7 separate regions of the Homo sapiens genome follow, and all the other regions are linked to region 5. The links are contacts of gene promoters, found by promoter capture Hi-C in blood cells and fetal thymus (Javierre and others, 2016). All regions are on one chromosome and are shown on one strand. Each heading gives the region's core, a stretch centred on a gene start or on the middle of the fragment in contact. The rest is flanking DNA. Distances are from core to core; before and after follow the strand shown.

Evidence for each region. The method cuts DNA at HindIII sites, captures the fragments that hold promoters and counts their contacts. A CHiCAGO score of 5 or more calls a contact.
Region 1: a contact is called between a fragment that was not itself captured here and the fragment with the promoter of SYNCRIP in region 5, in 1 of 17 cell types (total B cells). The highest score is 7.1, in total B cells.
Region 2: a contact is called between a fragment that was not itself captured here and the fragment with the promoter of SYNCRIP in region 5, in 1 of 17 cell types (monocytes). The highest score is 7.4, in monocytes.
Region 3: a contact is called between a fragment that was not itself captured here and the fragment with the promoter of SYNCRIP in region 5, in 1 of 17 cell types (monocytes). The highest score is 7.2, in monocytes.
Region 4: a fragment that was not itself captured here is called in contact with the fragment with the promoter of SYNCRIP in region 5 in 1 of 17 cell types (monocytes); the score reaches 7.0 in monocytes.
Region 6: a contact is called between a fragment that was not itself captured here and the fragment with the promoter of SYNCRIP in region 5, in 1 of 17 cell types (total CD8 T cells). The highest score is 5.4, in total CD8 T cells.
Region 7: a contact is called between a fragment that was not itself captured here and the fragment with the promoter of SYNCRIP in region 5, in 1 of 17 cell types (fetal thymus). The highest score is 6.2, in fetal thymus.

Annotation. Positions count from the first base shown.
Region 1 is chr6:81,746,110-81,749,127 of GRCh38, forward strand. TENT5A (terminal nucleotidyltransferase 5A) reads right to left here. Exons shown (of 3, transcript NM_017633.3): 3 at 1-3,018. Among named protein-coding and RNA genes, the nearest start is that of TENT5A, 5.1 kb to the right of the region's middle. The HindIII fragment of the contact is 2,523 bases long and covers 142-2,664 here.
Region 2 is chr6:89,353,441-89,356,705 of GRCh38, forward strand. No RefSeq gene overlaps it. Among named protein-coding and RNA genes, the nearest start is that of UBE2J1, 2.4 kb to the left of the region's middle. The HindIII fragment of the contact is 1,386 bases long and covers 1,073-2,458 here.
Region 3 is chr6:89,814,236-89,817,131 of GRCh38, forward strand. The region is part of intron 1 of MDN1 (midasin AAA ATPase 1); the gene reads right to left. It also overlaps the pseudogene PIMREGP3. Among named protein-coding and RNA genes, the nearest start is that of MDN1, 4.1 kb to the right of the region's middle. RefSeq lists an enhancer at 2,777-2,896. The HindIII fragment of the contact is 7,549 bases long and covers 1-2,896 here.
Region 4 is chr6:90,539,572-90,542,889 of GRCh38, forward strand. The region is part of intron 12 of MAP3K7 (mitogen-activated protein kinase kinase kinase 7); the gene reads right to left. Among named protein-coding and RNA genes, the nearest start is that of MAP3K7, 46 kb to the right of the region's middle. RefSeq lists a silencer at 1,765-1,965. The HindIII fragment of the contact is 1,080 bases long and covers 1,438-2,517 here.
Region 5 is chr6:85,641,594-85,644,556 of GRCh38, forward strand. SYNCRIP (synaptotagmin binding cytoplasmic RNA interacting protein) reads right to left here and starts at 1,293. Exons shown (of 11, transcript NM_006372.5): 1 at 1,204-1,293. RefSeq lists silencers at 343-392, 613-762, 1,353-2,372. The HindIII fragment of the contact is 3,992 bases long and covers 1-2,919 here.
Region 6 is chr6:89,645,917-89,648,849 of GRCh38, forward strand. MDN1 (midasin AAA ATPase 1) reads right to left here. Exons shown (of 102, transcript NM_014611.3): 98 at 2,340-2,413; 99 at 2,116-2,230; 100 at 624-687. The region is part of intron 1 of MDN1-AS1 (MDN1 antisense RNA 1); the gene reads left to right. Among named protein-coding and RNA genes, the nearest start is that of LYRM2, 8.6 kb to the left of the region's middle. The HindIII fragment of the contact is 192 bases long and covers 1,495-1,686 here.
Region 7 is chr6:89,371,788-89,374,819 of GRCh38, forward strand. It overlaps RRAGD (Ras related GTP binding D), which reads right to left. Exons shown (of 7, transcript NM_021244.5): 6 at 650-798. Among named protein-coding and RNA genes, the nearest start is that of UBE2J1, 21 kb to the left of the region's middle. RefSeq lists enhancers at 303-597, 507-726, 1,097-1,216. The HindIII fragment of the contact is 1,591 bases long and covers 739-2,329 here.

The DNA of each region.
Region 1 (3,018 bases), core at 153-2,652, 3.9 Mb before region 5:
AGATTCTTTCTTAGCACTGAAAATGCTATGCTAAAAGAAATTTTAAAGAAAGATTATATTCAAATAGATGCTATATATGAAATTACTTTTTTTGGCTTTTTGGTTTCACCTAACACACTTCATCTTCAACAACAACAAAAAAGCTTATTTTTGAACTGACAGCTTTCAACATAATACATTTCATTTACAAAATAGTTCACAATATTTATTTAACAAGCGTTGCATTGAAAACAACTTTATGCACAGTGAAGCAACCAACAATAAGCAAACAGAAAGGGGTGGTAAAAACAGTACGTTCACTTTTCATTTCCTTCCTTGGTTTGGATTACACATATTCTTCCATCCTTGCATTTTTGGAGCTACATTATTAGTCCATCCAATACCAAAGTGAGCAGATACTTGATCCCATTTCTGGAAAGGAAATGTCCATCTTGGTGTAGGAGTTCTTGAGGCAGCTGGATTTACTGCAAATTAAGTAAACCTTTAAAAACGGCATTGTCACAGGCTATGTGTTCTCTGACATGCCAGGCTGGACAGGTGAGAAGAGCCTCCAAAAGACAAAACTTCTTCCTGGTTTAAAGAAACAGCACACTAGGCCAGATAAACACAAAAGGAAACAAATCACAGGCGCTAATAGGGAGTCGGGAGCTGTTCTTTTCTCTGACCTATACACATGGCTCTCTCTCACCAGACATTCAAATTTTTAGGCCGCACATCCACAAAGAGAGACATATATTTCACTGTGTGTTCAACTACATATGCACAAGACTATAGTACACACAAAATAGAAATAAATTATATAAGTCTTAAAGTAAATGCTAGAAGTTGTCTTGAGTACAGCCTGTTCTATATGAATAGGTGCCAGGTGCTGGCACTTCCAACTAAGCTACCAACCCTGAAGTAAGCAAGAAAAGAATATAAATATTTAAGAAAATAAATCAAAGTGTATTTCAAATAAGGCTCTTCCAAACAAAAATCTGTGTTATAAATTAACAGCAGGTTATTGTTATGGCAGAGTCAGAGACCTCCAGACTCTTTAAAATAGTAGACGACTCATTTGTCAAGAGTTAGGGTAAGAAAGCAGATCACCAGCTGCTCCTGTGTTCACAAGTGCTCCCCTAGTTTTCTTTCAGAAAACTTTGAAACAACTAAGCAGGCGGAGCTCTGGTTTCTGATAGGTGAGTGCCAGGCTTAATCTGCAAACTGAACAATGTTTCCTGGGAAGTTGCAATTAATTTTTCAAACCCAGGGCTTAAGTGAGGGAGACTGAGCCAAGATGGTAGTAGGAGGAGTTCCTTAGAAAACTGAGTGGCAGTGCAGCGGCTGTTGCAGCTCTGACAGAATTCACAAGGAAGCTGCTACAGCAAACCCATCAGGTTCCCATTAAGGCTTCAAAGAAAGATGCACAAAAGGTAGTCCAGACGGATTAACCTGGATTAACCTAGCACTAAGCATCTGAGGATCCCTAGATAAACAAACAAACAAATTATACTGCCAACAGGAGGATATTTTTTTCTCCCGTGGTCTCTCTTTAACTGATGATGAAAATCTTCTAATTGGGTCTTCGAGGAATTATCATAGCAAGCAGTCATCCACTAAGGTTGTGGAGATTATGTGGTTGTTTCACAACACAAAGGGAAGGTTCTTATGTGTTAGTTTTGTTTTGTTTTTAACAAATGCATTTTCAGAGACCAGTATCTAGAGGAACTACTGGCTAGGAGAAAGGGTGGTTTTAGGATTAGCTGTTATTGAACTGAAATAGTAATGCCAGTTCATTTCACAAAGGTATAACTGGTATTTTTGTAAGAAAGAAAATAAAGTTGGATTTGATTTAATGGAAAGCGATTTAAAGTACAGTACTAAATATTTAAATGCAGTGTGACAACCAGATCAAAGATGTTTCATATTGACATGATTTATAAAATGTTATATATAATATATATCTCATATATAAATTTTAAGCAATTGTGCAAATATTCTGTAAAAAGGGTCATTTCACATTACTAAATTCTAGTGGTCCAGAAATGCAGAATGCATTCATTAAAATTCATTTAAACATTAGCAAGTAGTGTTTAGATCACCGGAAATCCTTTTTAGCAGTCAGGGATTTAAGTAGCCTATTACTGATCCATGATCCACTAGATTAAACATCATAGAGGAATGCAATTTTTTTTTTAATAAATGGGTTCCAACTGTCAAAATGGCAGTTCAATATAAAAAAGAGTGCTCTGCCAAACAAATATTCTCCCATTTGTGGAATTTTATGGCTCACCAAAGAAAAAAAAAAAAAGAAAAAAAAATCCCACTAAAACAGTATAATTTCTGCTCTTCCTATGAAATATATTACTTGGTTCCCTCCTTCATTTAATTTTTTTAGATGTGGATTTAATTCATCATTGCAATATGCCCACGTCTCATGTTATCCTGTTGAAAACATAAAAACACACAGTATTTAAACATTTCCTATTTGAGACATTATTCTAGATCATAGTCAATCTACTGTGTATATATACATATAAAATGTATATATAAAATGTATATATACACACACACATATAATTTATACACACATACACATGTACCTATGATAATATCAGATCAACAAATGTTAACTTTATACAAGTATTTGCAAGAAAAAATAGGGCATTTTCTCCACCATTCACAAGCTTATGTTATTTTCTTCTTGAGGCAGTCCCTGATAAAATAAAATAATCATTAAACCATAAAATAATTTTGCCACTTCAAATTTTCAGAAGGCAACAGGCACTTTGATGTATATTGGTGTGTAACAAATATAATCTCTCTTCATATAGTCTACTATATCTCTTCTAATTGGGTATTTTTATCTGTTAAATCTTTGGTCCTTGAGCACACTTTCTTTGTTACAGCTGTTTTTGCTTGCATTTTTACATTTTAAAAATGTGATCTATGCACGCAGCTGGAATTAATGGATTGTGTCATCATAAGTTCTGCTGATTGTTACGAGAACTGCACCAACCTACTACTGTTCATTTGGAG
Region 2 (3,265 bases), core at 516-3,015, 3.7 Mb after region 5:
CCGGTTAATTTTTTGTATTTTTGTTAGAGACACGGTTTCACCGTGTTGGCCAGGCTCGTCTCGAACTCCTGGACTCAAGCGATCCGCCCGCCTCGGCCTTCCAAAGTGCTGGGGTTACAGGCGTGAGCCACGGCTCTGGCCAGAGTTGGATATTCATAACAATTTTTTTCTCGGGTAGTGTGTTAGGTGCACGACATGTTTTAGGCATTGCAGGAGTTTTGTTTTTTTTGGTTTGTTTAGATGTAAAAGCTGTCAAAAAAAGGAATTACATTTAATGTGAGGGAAAGCATACAAATATGAAAGGTTAAACTTCAAAGGACACACTTACTGCTTCATTGTCCAATGTGTGGGATCGAGAGAGGACTGAGTTCAAAAGACTTAAGGAGTAGGGACCTTACTAAAGGAAAGGAGGGAGGGATTGGGAAGGTGGGGAGGATAGAAAGGGTTAATCAGGTTGGGCAAGTTTTATTCTGTTATATAAAGACATAAACTCTTAAATTTGATTTGTTTTCTATTGTTAAAGTTAATCTAAATCTGTGAGTTTCTTGATGAAATTGGGAGTAAAAAAGTGAAGGATATCTAAAATTAGATGGTATATTTTAAATCATTCCCTGATGTTGTTTTCTGTATAGTAAACTGATAATCTGACTGACTGAGATATGCAAACAAAACCAAACTCCAATGCTGCTTCATTCATTCATTGTGTTGAATCTTCAGATTAACTGACACTTGACACCCTCTCCTGCCACAGCTCTACAAAAGCCCCTAATTTGTGCAGTAGGCCCTACCACAGCAAGGCCTGCAAAGCAGGTGCTGTATATAATGCGTTCCTATTTGATAGCTGAGTACTAGAAGCCTTTTGCTATTCAGCCTCCAAGGTCCATCAATCTCTGGGTGCAGTTGTCCTCTGGGGCTCTCCTTTAGCCACCACCACCTCCACTGCTCCCTGGGGCTCTTCTCCCATAGGACTGGTTCAGTAGGAATAACAATCTCTCCTTCCTTGGTTAACAACAATAACAACAATTTATTGTGGACATGTGCCCATAACAATTTAATTATGGGCACATATCAAAGCTTAATTACAATCATGCTCCAAGATCAAAGCCAATTCCAAAATTTCTCTCAGCAGAGACATTTACAGAGAAAAGAGAAGTGGCTGGCAGGTGTGGTGGCTCATGCCTGTAATCCCAGCACTTTGGGAGGCCAAGGCGGGCAGGTCACCTGAGGTCAGGAGTTGGAGACCAGCCTGGCCAACATGGCAAAAACCTGTCTCTACTAAAAATACAAAAATTAGCTGGGTGTGGTGGTGCATGCCTGTAATCCCAGCTTCTCGGGAGGCTGAGGTAGGAGAATCACTTGAACCCAGAAGGCGGAGGTTGCAGTGAGCCGAGATCAACCTGGGAGACAGAATGAGACTCCATCTCAAAAAAAAAAAAAAAAAAAAAAGGCCAAGGTGGGCAGATCACTTGAGCTCAGGAATTCGAGATCAGCCTGAGCAACATGGTGACACCCATCTCTACTAAAAATATACACACACTCAAAAATTAGCCGGGCATACGTACCTGTGGTCCCAGCTACTCTGGAGGCTGAGAAGGGAGGATCAGTTGAGCTCTGGGGGATGGAAGAGGAGGAGCAGGCTGCAGTGAGTCATGATGGTGCCACTGCACTCCAGCCTGGGTGATAGAGCGAGACCCTGTCTCAAAAAGACAGATACAAAGAGAAGAGTAATTTTATTTAAAGGTTACTAAATTCTTGACTGACAGCTGGGTGGGAAGGGAGCTCATTTCCTTGGAAAATTTCTTATCCAAAAATTGCTTATTTTTTTAAACTAGAACACTTATTTCTTTCAAGAAAAATTTACAAATTATATCAGGTAAAGTTTTAATCCAAGATCAAATTTGGGGTAATTTTTTCTTTACTTTTGATGATCCTAAGGAAAACTCCTTTTTTTTTTCATTTTAAGATTTTTTTTTTTAATCCTTAAAGCCGACTTCGTAACTAATAAAAATGACAAAAGATGAGGTTTAAAATGTTTCAGAATCTTAGAAAACATCTTAGAACCACAATCCTTGACCTGTGTAATTCATCTTTTCCTTAGTTAGGAACCAGAAGTCCTTTGAAGTGCAGGCCCTTTCTCCACCGCCATTTGCATCCTTGTGCAAGGTCTGGACTATAGTTTTTTAGCATCTACTGTTTATCAGGCACTTGACATAACATCAACTCATTTATTCTTCATAACAGCCTTGGAAGTGGCACTGATTATTTATACCCATTTTACAGATGAAGATAATTTAGGTCTCAGAGAAATCAAGTGTCTACTTCTCAGTTTTTTCAACTACAGATTATTATCTTTCTGGCATATGATTTTTTATGTTAATGAGAGGAAATTTTTCTAGATTTTCATCTATTTCTTGATTTGGTTTGAATACTTTGAAATATATTTTATAAAGGTTCTTAAAGCTTCAATGACTTATTCAAAAAAAACTTCAGTGACTTATCTAGAAAATGAAAGAACCCTGATTCAAGTCCAGGTCTTCTGACTCTGAAACTTGGGTTTTTTTGCTACACTAAAAAGAATCAGGCTGTTTTGTGACATTTGAGTTTTCCACTATTTGAAAAAAGTATATGCTTCTTACAACCTCCGAGCTATTCTTGGTTCACACATTTTACTTATTCTTTAGCACTAGAAACTTTTTTTTAAATGATTTTCTTCTTGATCATAAAAGTAATACAGTGGTTCAATATGTGGAATATGAACAAAATCCAAATCTCCCATAATCCTCCTGCTTAGAAAAGGACATGATACAGATTTTGGTATATTTACCTTGAGGTTTTGTTTATAAGGCATAGATATTTTAAGAACTGATATCCCATTATACCACATATACTTTTCTATACTTAAAATATCTGCCATTAGCTAACTGGATTACTTGTTTTGCCAGTTGCATTGTTATTATCACTTAAACTGATAGTGTGAATCAGCTTATTTTACATCAATGTCTTCCTAGAGTAAAATTTAAAAAAAAAAAAACCTCAGAAAGCCATATATAAATTTTATTGCATCGCTTCTCAGTCTTTTGGCTAAGATCAAGTGTAGACTTTATTGTAAACATTTTGTTAATTACCTTGAATACTTTATAATTTTTTTTTTTTCAGAAAAAAAAAAAAACCACCTGCTATAGTTTTTTCTCTTGTTTTACCCCCAGGATTTCCCCTTGGGATTGGTTAATAAGAAACATGGAACATTTTCCCATGGGGATGTAGC
Region 3 (2,896 bases), core at 187-2,686, 4.2 Mb after region 5:
CCTTCAGAATTCTGGCACAGCTAACCAGCATTAACATTAAAACAGAGACCTTAGGACTGACAAAACAGATTACTAGTAGCAATAAGATACAAATATGACAGACAGCAAACCCTGAAAGAAGTATTTCAGGTGTTCTTTAATCCCCCTCCTTTTTTTTTTTTTTTTGGTAGAGACAGAGTCTCTCTGCTATGTTGCCCAAGCTGGTCTCAAACTCCTGGGTCCAAACAATCCTCCTCCCTCAGCCTCCAACAGTGCTGTGATGACAGGCATGAACCACCACATCTGGCCCAAAATATATAGCTTTGACAAATTTTGAAATGGCCCTGCAAAGTTGTCTCTTTAAGTCTTATAAGAAACATTTAACATTTACAGTGCTCGGCTTCAGGCACATGTTGGGGGTGTTGAGGTCTAGTGGGCAGAGTAGACTCTTGGCCAGACAGATGGTTTCTCAGTGGCAGGATGCGAGGGCCTCCATGCACCGGAGATCTCTCCAGCACCAGGAGCAGCCGCTGGACAGCAAGGAGCGGCAGCCTATGGTTAGCCATTGGGAGATCTCCGCCAGGGCCCTGGGTTCTCTGTGCAGACAGTTCCAAAGAAGGCTGCCCCTAAGAGCCGTCAACCTCAACCTCCGGACAGGTACCTCCTAGAAACCCCTAGAAACCAGGGTCAGGGCAGTAAGAGACTCCAGGCTGCAGCTCGCTCAGCTAAGAGCACCCTGGGTGCCATGTCACAGAGAATCCAGGAGTCCTGCCAAAGTAGCACCAAGTGTCTGGTGGAGACCCAGGTGAAGGCCAGGAGGAGGAAGAAAGGGGTACAAAAGGGAGAGCAGTGTCTCCCCAACTCACAGCCTGAGCCAGAAGAGGATTCAGCTGTATGGAGCTGCCCCTGACCACTCAGCTACAGACCCCTGTGCATCACCACCTCTCTACCTGGACAGGCTCACGTGCCTACCCTCTACGGCAGTGGAGGCGGGAGACTGCCTTCCAGAGCCCCTACTCCTTGACAGAGCTCCTCTGCTCTCCCAGCGCATCTGATAGTGACCTAGCACCTATGGGGAGCAGGAATTCGGCATCTCCAGAAGCTGTCCCAAGAGCTGGATGAAGCCATTATGGCGGAAGAGAGTGGTGAAATGACACTCTCATTCATGACTGAGGAAGTGCCCTGCAGGAAACAAGCCCTGTCTGACCACCAAGGCTTCGTACCCCAGAATGTCTGTGCTTCCCCATGAGCTTCCTGGCGGAAGCTCCCAGGAGTCATCAGTACCCCTGGGCCACTGCTAACAAAGACCTGACTAGCAAGGAGCCCAGAGCCCCCCTGCTCCAGCCACATCTGGACCCATCAGTGACTGCCTGCCACAGCCTGAGAGTGTCTTGGGGAGATCTTGCAGAGGTGGGGAGAATTGTTCCTTCTACTCCCCAAGGGGACTCTTGGGTTTAGTAATGCATCGTATACTTGACCTTGAGCCTGGTATTTGCTTCATCTACAATGTGAAGAGCTGGCATCAGATGTTTGAGAGCTCTGAACTCAAACCAGGTGCTTGGTTTTTGGGGAGTCATCCACAGAGTCACTCGCCCACTGTGTTTCCAGTGCCAAGGCCCTTGGGGGCACCACTCTCATCCCTGCTTTCCCTACCAGGGACCTGGAGGAAGGCATAGGAGATAGTTCCAGGCTTAAACCCTGGGCTCACAGGTACCTATTTATATGTTCAAGGCAGAGCACTGTGGGTGTGCCAGGAGGGGTAGCCCTGTTCAAGAGCAATTTCTGCCCTTTGTAAATTATTTAAGAAAACTGCTTTTATTTTATTAGAAAGAAACCAGATAGCATTGCTTTCTTATAATAAAGACTAGATAACACTGCTTTCTCATAATAAAGACTGTTTTGTGGCTGGGCGCAGCGGCTCACACCTGTAATCCCAGGACTTTGGGAGGCCGACGCGGGTGGATCACCTGAGGTCAGGAGTTCGAGACCAGCCTGGCTAACATGGTGAAACCCCGTCTCTACTAAAAATACAAAAATTAGCCAGGCGCAGTGGCAGGTGCCTGTAATCCCGGCTACTCGAGAGGCTGAGGCAGGAGAACTGCTTGAACCCAGGGGGCAGAGGTTGCAGTGAGTTGAGATCGCGCCGCTGCAGTCCAGCCTGGGTGACAGAGCAAGACTCCATCTCCGTCTAGGGGCGGGGGTGAGGAGACTGCATTTGGGGGAAAAAAAAAAATCATTTACAGGCTAGGCTTATAATCCCAGCACTTTGGGAGGCTGAGGTAGGTGGATCACTTGAGCCTAGGAGTTCTAGACCAGCCTGGACAACAAAGCAAGATCCTATCTCTTTAAAAAATAATAAAAATTTTAAAAAAAGAAACATTTGCAATCTGTTCTCTCTGAAACCTGTTACCTGGAGGCTTCATTTGCATAATATGAACCTTGGTCTCCACACCCCTATCTTTTTTTTTTTTTTTTTTTGAGACAGAGTCTCGCTCTGTCACCCACGCTGGAGTGCAGTGGTGCGATCTCAGCTCACTGCAAGTTCCACCTCCCGGGTTCACGCCATTCTCCTGCCTCAGCCACCTGAGTAGCTGGGACTACAGGTGCCCGCCACCATGCCCAGCTAATTTTTCATATTTTTAGTAAAGACAGGGTTTCACCATGTTAGCCAGAATGATGTCGATCTCCTGAGCTTGTGATCCACCCGCCTCAGCCTCCCAAAGTGCTGGGATTACAGGCGCGTGCCACTGTGCCCAGCCTCCACACCCCTATCTTAACCTAGACACTCCATTCTACTGATTCCAGGGATTTAAATGAACTCTCACCCAATTGCCAGTCAGCAAATCTTTGAATCCACCTGTGACTTGGAAGACCGCCCCCCTCACCCTTCGAGTTGTCCCAGCTTTCCAGACCAAAT
Region 4 (3,318 bases), core at 728-3,227, 4.9 Mb after region 5:
GAGGAAATATTTAATAACTTACATGCTTCCAGTTAAAGAAAGGTTTACAAACATTAGTTACCGACCGGCTCTTGAACCAAATATACTATTAAAAAAGTGATATTTTCATCCTGGTGGAGAAAGCAAAATAGTGCTCAGGTGTCCTTGAAAAGCATCTCTGCTTCCAGTTGTTTAAGCATTCTATAAAGCCCTCCCCACCTAGATAATTTATTTGCCAATACCTGACATTTGAAACTTCTGAAGGAGGGCAACAAGATACAAGTATTAGAAGCCTAACTACTCATCTATTTTTCAGTTAAAATGTTTGGGCCTCTCTACATTCTACTTACTCCAATTTACTACTTATCATACTGTTAGTAAAAAACCAATATACAATAGAGCTAAACGTCCTTGACTGAAATTAAAAGCGAATACGCGTTTTTTATTCAGTTAAGAGATCTAAATGCGGCTGAAATCATAAGGACACCTAAGGTTTCTTTTTAGCTTTAAGAATGATATAACAAACAATAAATATCAATTAAGTTCAGGTTCTTCAGGAAACTAGGCAAAAATCTTATCTATTTCAGTAAGATCTGACTCAAAAACATTTGTATATTCAATCTTCTTTTGCATATCCTTAAGAACAGTATGTAAGACAGAAAATCCTCTTTGGTCAAGGCATTTTATTGCTCTCGAATGTTATGCCATATTATTTTAGGCTTAGAAATAACAAAAGGTACACTAAAGCAACACTGTTCAAGGTTCTCAAATTGAAGCACTTCAAGGCAATGTTCATCTATAGAATGGATGGTTTTCAAGTACTTGAAATCAAGCATTATAATCTAATCTGAACTAAGAAATAAATTTATCTATGATGATATAATAGCATTAAAAATGTCTGTAATTTAGAAAATTTTACTTTTGCATATCACATTTGGGAAACTCATTTCACTTTATAAAAGCAATCAAGCCGGTATGAACCATGTACAACAAATTTTATATCAGAGTAGAAGTGCAGAAGACTAATGTTTAATTAAATCTTTTATAGGTGGTAAGTATATATGTATATGACAGTATTTTTTTCCAGTAGATTTTAGAATGCATTATAATTACAGTTTATTTCCTTAAATGCTATAACTACTCACACAAAGGCTCCAGAGCAGAACAACCCATCTTCCATTACTGATGCTACAAGCATGAAAAATAATTCGCTTTCTTAACTACTTATTCTCTTACTCTACATGTTAAACTGAAAAAGGTTGTTCCTCTTTTTTTGTAATATTTAGGCATTCTACCTGTTCCTCTTTGACATTTGGATTTTTAAAAGAAATGTAAAATTTAGGTATTCTTCTAACATCAGATGAACTGCATTAGAATGTCTTACATAGTTTCACAATCCCAATAATCTATTTCATTTGTGTACTTGAGATGAAGGTGGGTGAAAAATAGATTCTTGGAAGCTTAGATAGTGACAAAAAGAAAATATGGGAAAAAGTAAAGAAAATCCATGCAAAACAATGATCTGTGTTCTTACTGCCCTTATTAAAGTCCTAGAACAAAAAAAATCTAGAAAAACTTCAAAGAATCCAATAATCTGCTACCTATTCCCTTTTCTTCAAATATAAATGTAACAAATTAGATGTACTGGCTGAAAGGAGAAAGGATATGGTTTTTAAAACTCAAGTTTTAATAAAAAACATTTAAGAAAATCTATTTCTTTTCTCGAAGTCCCTTCCAACTTACCAGCAAGCAAATGCATTAGAAAACTGTAGTTCATATGGTCTAAATACTGGGCAAGAAACTTCCACATTTACATTTACTTTGCTTAGGTAGCACACTGCTACTTGGCAGGACCTTCTCTACAAAGGAAGAGTCAGCAAAATGTCACACACTCTACTGGTAATTTGCTCTTAGCTGCGTGTCTTCCTTGGTAAAAAGGAGCCAGGCTAATCTATAAAGCTCACTCTTTTAAGGGCAGATGGACAGTGGAAAGAAGGAAGGGTTACCGTACAAAAGTTTGTCAGTTCTTCAGAGCCAGTAATATGGTAGAAGAGGTATAAAAAATTGTACAGTCTGACCCACAGGGAGTCCTAAGGTATTAAAGGTTAATTTCTGTATGATCTGAGAGACTACTAAATTGATAAATAGTGCTGTTTTGCTAAGTTGCTTTTTCTTCCACATTTGACTGATGGCATAGTATACACATTTTGAAGAGCGAGCAAAAAACAAGATTACAAGATTAGGGTCTTTGCATTTCTTTACCTATGACTAGGTTAGACATTTTAGTGACTTTAAAGATATATATACAAAACCTTTTTTGTGATGCTTGAAGGATTGCTCTTATTAAGAGAGGTAGTTCATTCCAAGAAGTACATTAGACTCAGTACATTGCACTTGGCCAAAGGGAAGTATTAACGAAACTCTTATCCATGTAAATAAGATCTTTAAAAAGCTATATTTAAAAAGAATCCTTGCAATTGGGTTTTAATGCTAATTAAACAGTTTGAATATATCAAGAAGTATTTGCTAATACCATAAAGCTTGTGGGAAATCCACTTAGAACAAAACAATTTCTAGAAAGTATTAAGAAATTTTGGAAATTAAGTATCACCCTTCTTTACAATTAAAATGTCATGTAGGAAATTTGAGATATTCCCAAAGGATGGGCGGTATTTTTATATTTAATTTAAAAACATTACCTATGAGCACATTCATGATTGGCTTTTATGTCCACTAGTGTCAATTCTACAGCTTGTATTCTTCTATTAAAGAAAGTGCACCTGAGTAAGTTAATGTTTGATATCTGAGGGGGGAAAAGCCTAAAAAGAATATTTAATAAAAGGTATTACTGAATAATATTTTCATATGAATAGCACTGCTGCTCTGGCAATTAAGAGAATTAAGGTTACCTGATTCCATAAAGGCCCAATGTCATAAAAGAGGATCTCCCTGGCTGAAGAGCTCTCCTTAATGTGAACACTAAGAGAAAGCAAGAAGAAATTACTCTAGCTTCTCTGACTTAAACAAAAGAACAAAAAATGGATGTGACTTGGAGTCAGAAGATCTGGGTTGGGGTCCTGGCTATATGATTCTGGAAAAACCACTAAACATCATCAGATCTAAGTTCTTCGTCTGTTAAACAGCTATAATTTCATCCGATAACCTAGTTGTAAGATTGTATAAAGGTAAAATAAGATGTACTTTAAGCTACTTTGTAGGGCACAAAGAACATCTAATCAGGGGTTTTCAGCCTCAGCACTGCTGCCATTTTGGGCTGGATCATTCTTTGTTGGAGAAGACTGCCTGGTACACATCAGGATGTTTAGCAGCATCCCTGGT
Region 5 (2,963 bases), core at 43-2,542:
CGCCTGACAAGCCAGATTTGGAGCACAGGGCACAGAAGGACCGATTCACCATATTCTTCCTCAGCACCACCCCTGACTCACCTGCTAACACTCCCTAGGAAAAACCATATTACAAATAGAGCCCAATCAGCACGGGTACGAGCCAGCGTGCCACATGCAGCTGTGCCCGTTCGGAAAATGAGGTGTGTGTGGAGAAAGCAAAACTGGGCTCCTCTCTCTCAAAGATAAACCCCCAAAGTGCGCGCTTTTCCCGCCTGCCGCTTATAGATCGGTAACAACAGCCAGCGAAGAACAAAGCGCTCATACAAGCCACCTTCCCACCACCCAATTTCTCCACCCTTTAACCCCGCACCCCAAAGCCCGCCCCTGACTCCGCACCCAGAGCGGCAGTCTCACCACTGCGGCCGCCAGGAGCCCATTAGAAACACGTGCTCTGCGCCTTCCAATGTCCTACAACTTCCTTCAACGGCAACCCAACGAATCCCAAACCAAGACGACCATCACTGGTTCCCAACATCAACCCGAAGCCGCGGTCGGAGCCCCCAGAAAGCTGCAGCAGCACAATCTCTCCCCTGAACACCGAGGCACCGGCGGCGCCAGGCCACAGGCTCTCCCCGCCCCCCAGCGCCGCCGTCTCCGCCGTGACACATGGCTCTCCGCCCCTGGCGCTCCCCGGGCGCCGACGACCCCCGGCCGCCCGCCCGGCCGAGACGTGACCCGTGGCGCGCTGTGCAGGTCCCCACCCCTTACCCTTCCGTGCAGTGACTGCGACGCCTGCCCGGCAACCCAGCAGCGTGAGGGCGTTCAGCGGACGGCTCAACGCCCGCGGGACCGTGAGCACCGCCCAAGCTCGCCGCACGGCTGCAGGACAAGACCCACTCCTCTCCGCCCACTCCCGCGCCGCGGCGACCGCCACGACAGCACCAACTCTGAAGCCGCTCGCGGTCCGTGCGGGCCACGGGACCGTGGAGGCGCCTCCTCCCAAAGCGCCGCAGACAAAGCCCGAACCGCAGCAGCACATGGAAAGGAGGAAGTGGCGGCGCGGGCCGCGGCCTACTCCCAGGCAGCCCCAGTCAACGTGCTCTTCTCCCCATTGGAATCCATTTTCCAGAAAAGCCGGTTTCTACCCGCGCCACCCTCCCCCAGCTCACTCCACAATGTCATGGAGCTCCCCTCCCACACCCAGGTTCTGGCAGTCGTTACCTCCCCGTTGGGCTGAGGCGGAGAAATCCTGTCCGATGGTATCGGGTTGCGGGAAACGCGTGCTCGCTGCTCCCTGTGTCCGGCGCGAGTGGAGCTGTTGTAAAATGGCGGCCGAAGCTCACGCCGCTGGCAGCAAACCCGATCCAGTTCCACTCGCCTCCGAGCGCGCTCCCGGTGCGCGCGCGCGCCCCCGCGTGACCCCCCCTTCCCTTCCCTTCCCTTCCCTCCCCTCCCTCGCGCGTCCGCTTCACTCACTCCCTCAGCCCCTGCCCTCCTCCAGCTCCTCCTTCTCCCCCTACCACCACCACCACCACTAGCCTCTGTCCGCCTTCTCTCGGCCTTTCTTATTCCCGCCCCCCGCTCCTTTACCCCACTGCTCCCACTCCCCTCTGCGGTCGCTCAGGCACGAGTGGCCGCCTTTCCCCTTCTGGCTCGCACGCTCCCTCACTCCCTCCCTCGCTCGCTCGCACTCTCGGCCCGGTCCCCCAGTCCCTGCCGAGTCGGCTCCTCTCTTTCTCTCTCCCGCGCTGACGTGACAACGTAGCCTACGCCTCGGGACGCGCGCCCGCGGGCTCCGCCCCCACGCCGCGCCGCCTTCCCCGCTCCTCACCCCTTGGGTTGGGGGTGGGGGAGGCACAAGACCCCGCCCTTCCGCTCCGACGGTGGCGGCCGAGGGGCCGAGACTGAATGAAAGGCCCGCCCCTTCCCCTCCCGACACTCCCCCTCCCTCTCCCCTCCAGGCGGGGCGGGCCGGCTCAGCGTGTCCCACTCGTTTTCCTTTGTCAGGAGACTGGCATCTCCCCACCCCGCCCCACCCCACCCCCTCCCCGCGACACCATGCGCACGCCACCCCCACCGAGCTCCCGCCCGCCCCATCCCTGCCCGGTCCGGGGCTGGCGGGGCAGAGTGCTGTGGGCGCTGAGTGCGACTGCCGCTTCCCGGAGGGCACCCACCGGTCTGTGCGCGCCCGGCCCCCGCCCCCGGCTCCGCGGCCGCGTAGCCGTTCCAGGCGGTGTCCACGCCGCTGCCACCGCCCCGCGCTCTCCTCCTCGGGAAGCTGCAGGCGCACGTGTCCCCCGGGGCGGGGCGAGGCAGACAATGGGGCCAAGGGGGAGGGGAGCGGCGCGGAGACCCGCGGACCTTTGGTCCGCCGGACTGGCGGTACTCGAGTGCGAGAGTCGCCCTTGGAGACTCGATCTCCCCAACTGGACAGTGGGCCCTCCTCGCAGCCGCGCGGCTCCGCTTTCACGGGAACCTTCGGCGAAGGGAGGGGCGCCCCAGGCTTGGACGCGGAAACCCCGGCTGCTTTTGAAGGGGGAACGGGGCTGGCTCCAGTGGAGCGAGGAGCGGCTCCTGCCTTGGGATGACACGAAGGCCAGATTTGGAAGCGAAACCGCCCGGTGGTGAAGGGTTGTGCAATACTCCGTTTCAGTCCCTGGCCTTTTAAGCAGTTAAGGGCTTCCTCCTGGCACAGTTTGAGCAACTTGAAACAGCACAAAGCTGCGTGGTTAGAACAACTTTGAGAAAAATGTCTGTGTTTCTTTTAAAAAAAACCTTGGCAACTAAATCTTCTGTGAAATGACGTTTCCTTTATAATCGTTTACTAGGTACAAGAAAGACAAGACAAAGGCATTTGAATTACAGACGCGATATGGATACTAATTTTATCCAGGGCAGCTGTAATGAAAAATAGAAACAATGTCCTTTTGATTAAAAAGCTTATTTTTAAGAGCTTACTGGTTCCCCAGATGAGCTCTGTG
Region 6 (2,933 bases), core at 341-2,840, 4.0 Mb after region 5:
TAAATGTGGTTGGATTAGCTGGTTTTTATATTATGTCCTTCTCTACTTTCCTCTGTTATTAAAATATTAGAGAATACAGTACTTGCAGGGGGCTGGTTTCAGGACACACACCCCCTCACCCCCAGTATACCAGAATACACACATATTCAAGTCCAGAGATGGCCCTGGAGAACCCGCATACATGAAAAGTTGGCCCTCCATATACTCGGGTTTTGCATCCCTCAAATGCTGAATTTTCAATCCACTTTTGGTTGGAAAAACTCCATGTGTAAGTAGACCTGATCTGTACAGACAAACCTGTGGTATTCAAGGGTTAATTGTAGCCTTTATATTTAATTCCACACACACCTTGCTCCTTTCTCTTATAAATCTGAACTCAAGTAAGTATATACTAGTTAGTGTCTAGATCCCCCATTGATTATAAGCCTCATGAGTACAGGTTCAACAAAAATTTCTGAATGAATGAATAAATAAGTAAAAATCAGCTCCATCAATTTATGTCTTTTCCTGTGGAGCATACCTATTAAAACACAGTGACGGGGACACTGAGCTGAAGCAAGCAGCTTGGGAATATAGAGTACAAGAAAGCATTTTGTTAATGAAGAGGAAGGCATGCAGCTCACCTGAACTGATGTTCTGCGAGAGCTGCTGAGCAGCTGCAAACATGTTGGCAACAGACTCTAGAAACTAAACCGGAACCAGGAATAGACAATTAGAAAACTATGTGAATGCTCTTCTCATTGTCAAAGAGACTGATAGTATTTCTGACATTGAAGTGATTATCAGATAACCACCTCAGGTTTACAGACCATCAACTAACTGTCCCTTCTGGCCGTATGTAGTTAAAAAAGGAGGATCCTTGGATACAGACATTCTGTTTTTTAATTATTATTTTTTGAGAGAGGGTCTCACTGTGTCACCCAGGCTGGAGTGTAGTGGCACGATCTCATCTCACTGCAGCCTCGATTCCTGGGCTCTGCCTCAGCCTGCCGCCAAGTAACTAGCACTACAGGTATGTGCCACCACACCTGGATAATTATTTTTGTCTTTTGTAGAAATGAGGTCTCACTATGTTGACAAGGCTGGTTTTGAACACCTGGCCTCAAGCGGTCCTCACACCTCAACCTCCCAAAGTGCTGGGATTACAAGTGTGAGCCACCATGCCTAGATGATACAGGCATTCTCAAGCACAGGTGAGACGTTTCTCTAACATATAACCCACTAGAGTTCTGGAAGATACCCCAAAGGAAAAGAAGTGCTTCCCTGGGGCATAAGAAATCAATACTCCCTCAAATAAACCAAACAGCTGTCTTCTTTCAAGAACAGAAAACAACTGAGCAAAAGAGAAGGCAAGAAAATACAAAATGTCCAGGGCAGCCTAGAAAAAGCAAACTGAATCAGAGCAGGACCCAGGAGAAATATGATCCCATGCTGTTTTGAACTTTTGTTCTCTTAAGTAAGTCACTGGCTTTACTTCATATCATTTCTTCTCTAAGCTTAATGAGGGAGAAAAATAGGTCTTGGCCCAGCTGATAAGGGTATGGGAGATGGGTTTGTTTTTGCAGAATGTTCCAAACTACTCGGAAAAAAAAGTAGGGAGCTAGAAAACCAATGATGCAAAGTCAAGTGATCCTTGAGGAACTGAGAAAAAGAAGTCACACCTTGTTTTATAATGGATGCTAAGGAAGCTTCTATTCCAGTGGTACACAGGCTGAGGTTTGGGACTATCCCTGTCCTAATACTGTATGCGGTGGAGGGTGGTTCTCAGCCCAGCATGGTGGTAATCCCAACACTTCGGGAGGCCAAGAAGGGAGGATCACTTGAACCCAGGAATTTTAGACCAGCCTGGGCAACAAAGTGAGACCCTGTCCCTACAAAAAATAAAAATTAGCCAGACATGGTAGCATGCGCCTGTAGTCCTAGCTACTAGGGAGGCTGAGGCAGGAGGACTGCTTGAGCCCGGGAGTTCGAAGCTATAGTGAGCTATGATGGCGCCATTGTACTCTAGCCTGGGTGACAGAACAAGGTCCTGTCTCAAAAATAAAAATGTTCTCCCTCCAACCTACACCAGTTTAAAAATAACTGTGCAGAAGACATTTTATTTCATCCTCTTACCTGAGCAATCTTGGTTTTCTTTTGTTGGAATTTGCAGAGACGTAGAATCTGGGACCCAGAGTAATCACTGAACTGCTCATGAAATGGGTGTAACAGCTTTACAGATTCTCCAAAACTTGGGGGAGGAAAACCAAATACAACAGGAGTTATTTTTTGGCTGTGTGATCAAAATAACCAAACAGGTTGTGAAAAGTTTTCATAAAGGAATTACAAAGCAACCTTACCTACACACTGCAATCTGACCCACTTCCAGGAGGGTTAGAGCATTTCCAATCACAGCCAAAGATTCAAATGCAAGCTGTGAATTAGAAAGTTAATGATTTTAGGAATCAGAATATCCTCTAAACCAGAGCCTCTCAACTATTTTTTGCATCAAGATTCCCAAAGAAAACATTTTTTTGTTTGGCAAGTAGAGGAATAACATCAGTAAGGCTACTATAGTCACAACAAACCCAAAGGCTTTGGTGGCCTGGTACCACAAATGTTGAAACCTAGAATCCATTACACTGATAGGAATGGTCTGCTGTAGACATCGAATAAAAAGTGACCTTGAGGGCCAGGCGTGGTAGCTCACACCTGTAATCCCAGCACTTTGGGAGGCCAAGGAGGGAGGATCACTTGAGTCCAGGAATTCAAGAGTAGCCCAGGCAACACAGCAAGACCCCACATCTGTGGTCCCAGCTACTTGGGAGGCTGAGGTAGGAGGATCACCTGAGCCCAGGAAAGTTGAGGCTACAGTGAGCCACCTGGGCAACAGAGTGAAACCCTGTAACCCTGTCTTCAAAAAAAAAAAAAAAAACAATTTAGCCGGGCATGGT
Region 7 (3,032 bases), core at 284-2,783, 3.7 Mb after region 5:
AGTAACTTTTGTTTAGATATTATAGAAGGGGGAAATTAGTTTAATTGCTTTTGTTTCAAAATAAAACTGAATTTGATCCTAAAAAAAATTTGGTGGAGTTAAATATATTCATGGTCTTCCCTTTCCGGAATCATGATGCCATCCCTGTGTTCTGAAGATTTAAGAAGTATTTTGAGGCTGAACAGAAGTCAAACCACCTGTTGTCCCCTCCTTTACATGGGAAGAACAAAAGATCACACGGTTACCTAAGACCTTCTAGAGGTGTGGAGCAAAGTGGAGACCTCCACCCTCAGTATAGGCTGGGAGTCTGCTCCCTGGTAAGAGACTTCATTCACAGCCTGGCAACAGTGCCCCAACTAGCTTCCCCCTAGCAGAGATGCCAAGGCCCCTGGGAGGATCATGGGGTTCCACTTCCACCTCGCTGCAATCGCAGATGCACCACTAGAGGGCAGGCCAGTTCACTGGCCCAGAAGCTGACACTGGGGGCAGGAGCCCGCCCCGCTCTGAACTCCAAGCCAAGAGGGCCTGTGACTGGCATCTGGAAGTTTCGAGGGCTATGCTGTTGTCCACCCACATTCAACAAACAATACATGCAGTAGCAGTCTGATGCTTCTTTTAATGCTTCTTTTAAATCACACCAAAAAGTTACCTTTTCTTTCAAAGCTTTCCTCTCTGACAAAGCAAACGAGAGCCAGGAACTTTGTCACCTCTTTTAAATAAAGCACGGTTGTATTATTAAGCTTTATGATGGCTGTGGATTCCTTGTCATAGGGGGTTCCTGCTCCATCTTCTTTGAGACTAAATGGGGACAGAAACCAAAACATGTGACCATTGAGAAAGAACTAGAAACTGTAAGCCAGTGACAAGAGACCGGCTTTAAGCCACAAAAAGTGATAATCATAAGTTGTTTACACTTGCAGTGCCTTTCAGCAAAAGAGCTCAGAAACACACAGGCACAAAAACATACACAGTCCTCAACAGTCATTTCCTACTGACAATGAGTGGCTGTCTGCAGCAGCTGGGACACTCTCCAGGCACCTGAAGAAGCCAGTTGAAGGATGAGGTTAGCTCTCCCCACCTCCGTGGCCAAGGGCTTCTTGTTTTCTCACCTAGAATAGCCAGGCTGTCAAAAGCGTGGTCTGATGAAAGACTAAGAAAGGCTGAAGATATGTTCCAAATTCAAGGAGTCTAAAGAGACCTGAAAGCCAAGTGCTAGACTGGATCCTGAATTGGGAAAAACTGCTATAAAAGATAGAATTGGGACCACTGGTAAAATCTGAATATCGTCTATATATTAGATAATAATGTAGCCATGCTAAATTTGCTGAACTGTGAACTGGTTCAATTTACTCTCAAATGGTTCACTGAAAAGAAATAGATACACAATATGTATTAGAAAAAGAGAGATGCAGCAAATATGGCAAATTGGTAAAAACTGATGAATCCCAGTGAAGAGTTATACAGGAGTTCATTTTACTACCCTTGTATATTTTCTGTAGGTTTTAACTTTTTTTCAAAATAAAGAGTTAAATAAGATATATAGGTCTATTTGGCCAGGCGCAGTGGCTCACGCCTGTAATCCTAGCACTTGGGAGACAGGTAGATCACGAGGTCATGAGTTCAAGACCAGCCTGGCCAATATGGGTGAAACCCCATCTCTACTAAAAATACAAAAATTAGACAGGCACCACGTGGTGGCGCACACCTGTAGTCCCAGCTACTCGGGAGGCTGAGGCAGAAGAATCCCTTGAACCCAGGAGGCAGACGTTGCCGTGAGCCGAGATTGTGCCACTGTACTCTAGCCTGGGTGACAGAGCAGGACTCCGTCTCAAAAAAAAAAAAAAAAAAAGATATATAGGTCTATTTAAGAAAAGGTGTGGTGTGCAGACACAAGTGACTTGGGTTTGAATCTCATTTCTTTTATTTGCTAGCTATGTGAGCTTGGACAAGTCGAATAACTTCTTTGAGCCTCAATTTCCTCATATGTACACTAACAGTAATTATTTCAAAGTTTTCTAATGAAGATTAAATGAAATAATGCATATGTAGCACTAAGCATAATGCTGAGAACATAAAATACACACTTATTATCATGGCTTTAATGACTGAAACTGGACCCTCTGAAGATACCTGTGTAATAAAAGTGTTATGAATCCTTTCCTCACAGGCAAAGGACACTTCCCTAAACCTTTTCCCCCTTACCTAAAACTGTACATAAATTTTCTGATTTATTTTTACTCCCCAAATTTATGAATAACTGACCAGAAATTTGACTTAATTGGAATTGTGTTAAACCTTACCACATTCACTGAGAACTAGCATTTATTAAAGCTTACTATGTGATATTAACCATTCTTAGTTCTTAAAATGCATTATCCTCTGTCTGCTATAAGAATCCTCTAAGTTTCTAAGGAAACTGAGGCTAGGGGAAAATAAGATAACTTGGTCAAAGCTGACGATAGGGGTAAAGTCAGGACCTCAAACCTAGATATGGCTAATTTCAAAGTTAATGCTTTAATCCTGTAAATACACAAGGGGGTACAGTATCAAGCCAGATTTAATGAAAAGCCTGAATTGCACAAGAGTATTTTTAGGAAATGTAGGTTTTTAGTTTTGAGAGTATTTTAAGCTGCCATATACATGGCCACTTAAAAGTAAATTGTGAGGGTGGGCACGGTGGCTCAGGCCTATAATCCCAGCACTTTGGGAGGCCGAGGTGGATCGCCTGAGGTTGGGAGTTCGAGAACAGCCTGACCAACATGGAGAAACTCCGTCTCTACTAAAAATACAAAATTAGCTAGGCGTGGTAGTGCATGCCTGTAATCCCAGCTACTCGGGAGGCTGAGGGAGGAGAATCACTTGAACCCGGGAGGCGGGGGTTGCAGTGAGCCGAGATCATGCCATTGCACTCCAGCCTGGGCAACAAGAGCGAAACTCCATCTCAAAAAAAAAAAAAGTAAATTGTGGAAGTTCGTATTTTTTGTTTTTTTTAAAGGATTCAACTCACTATAACCTACCAAAACATTAAAGAA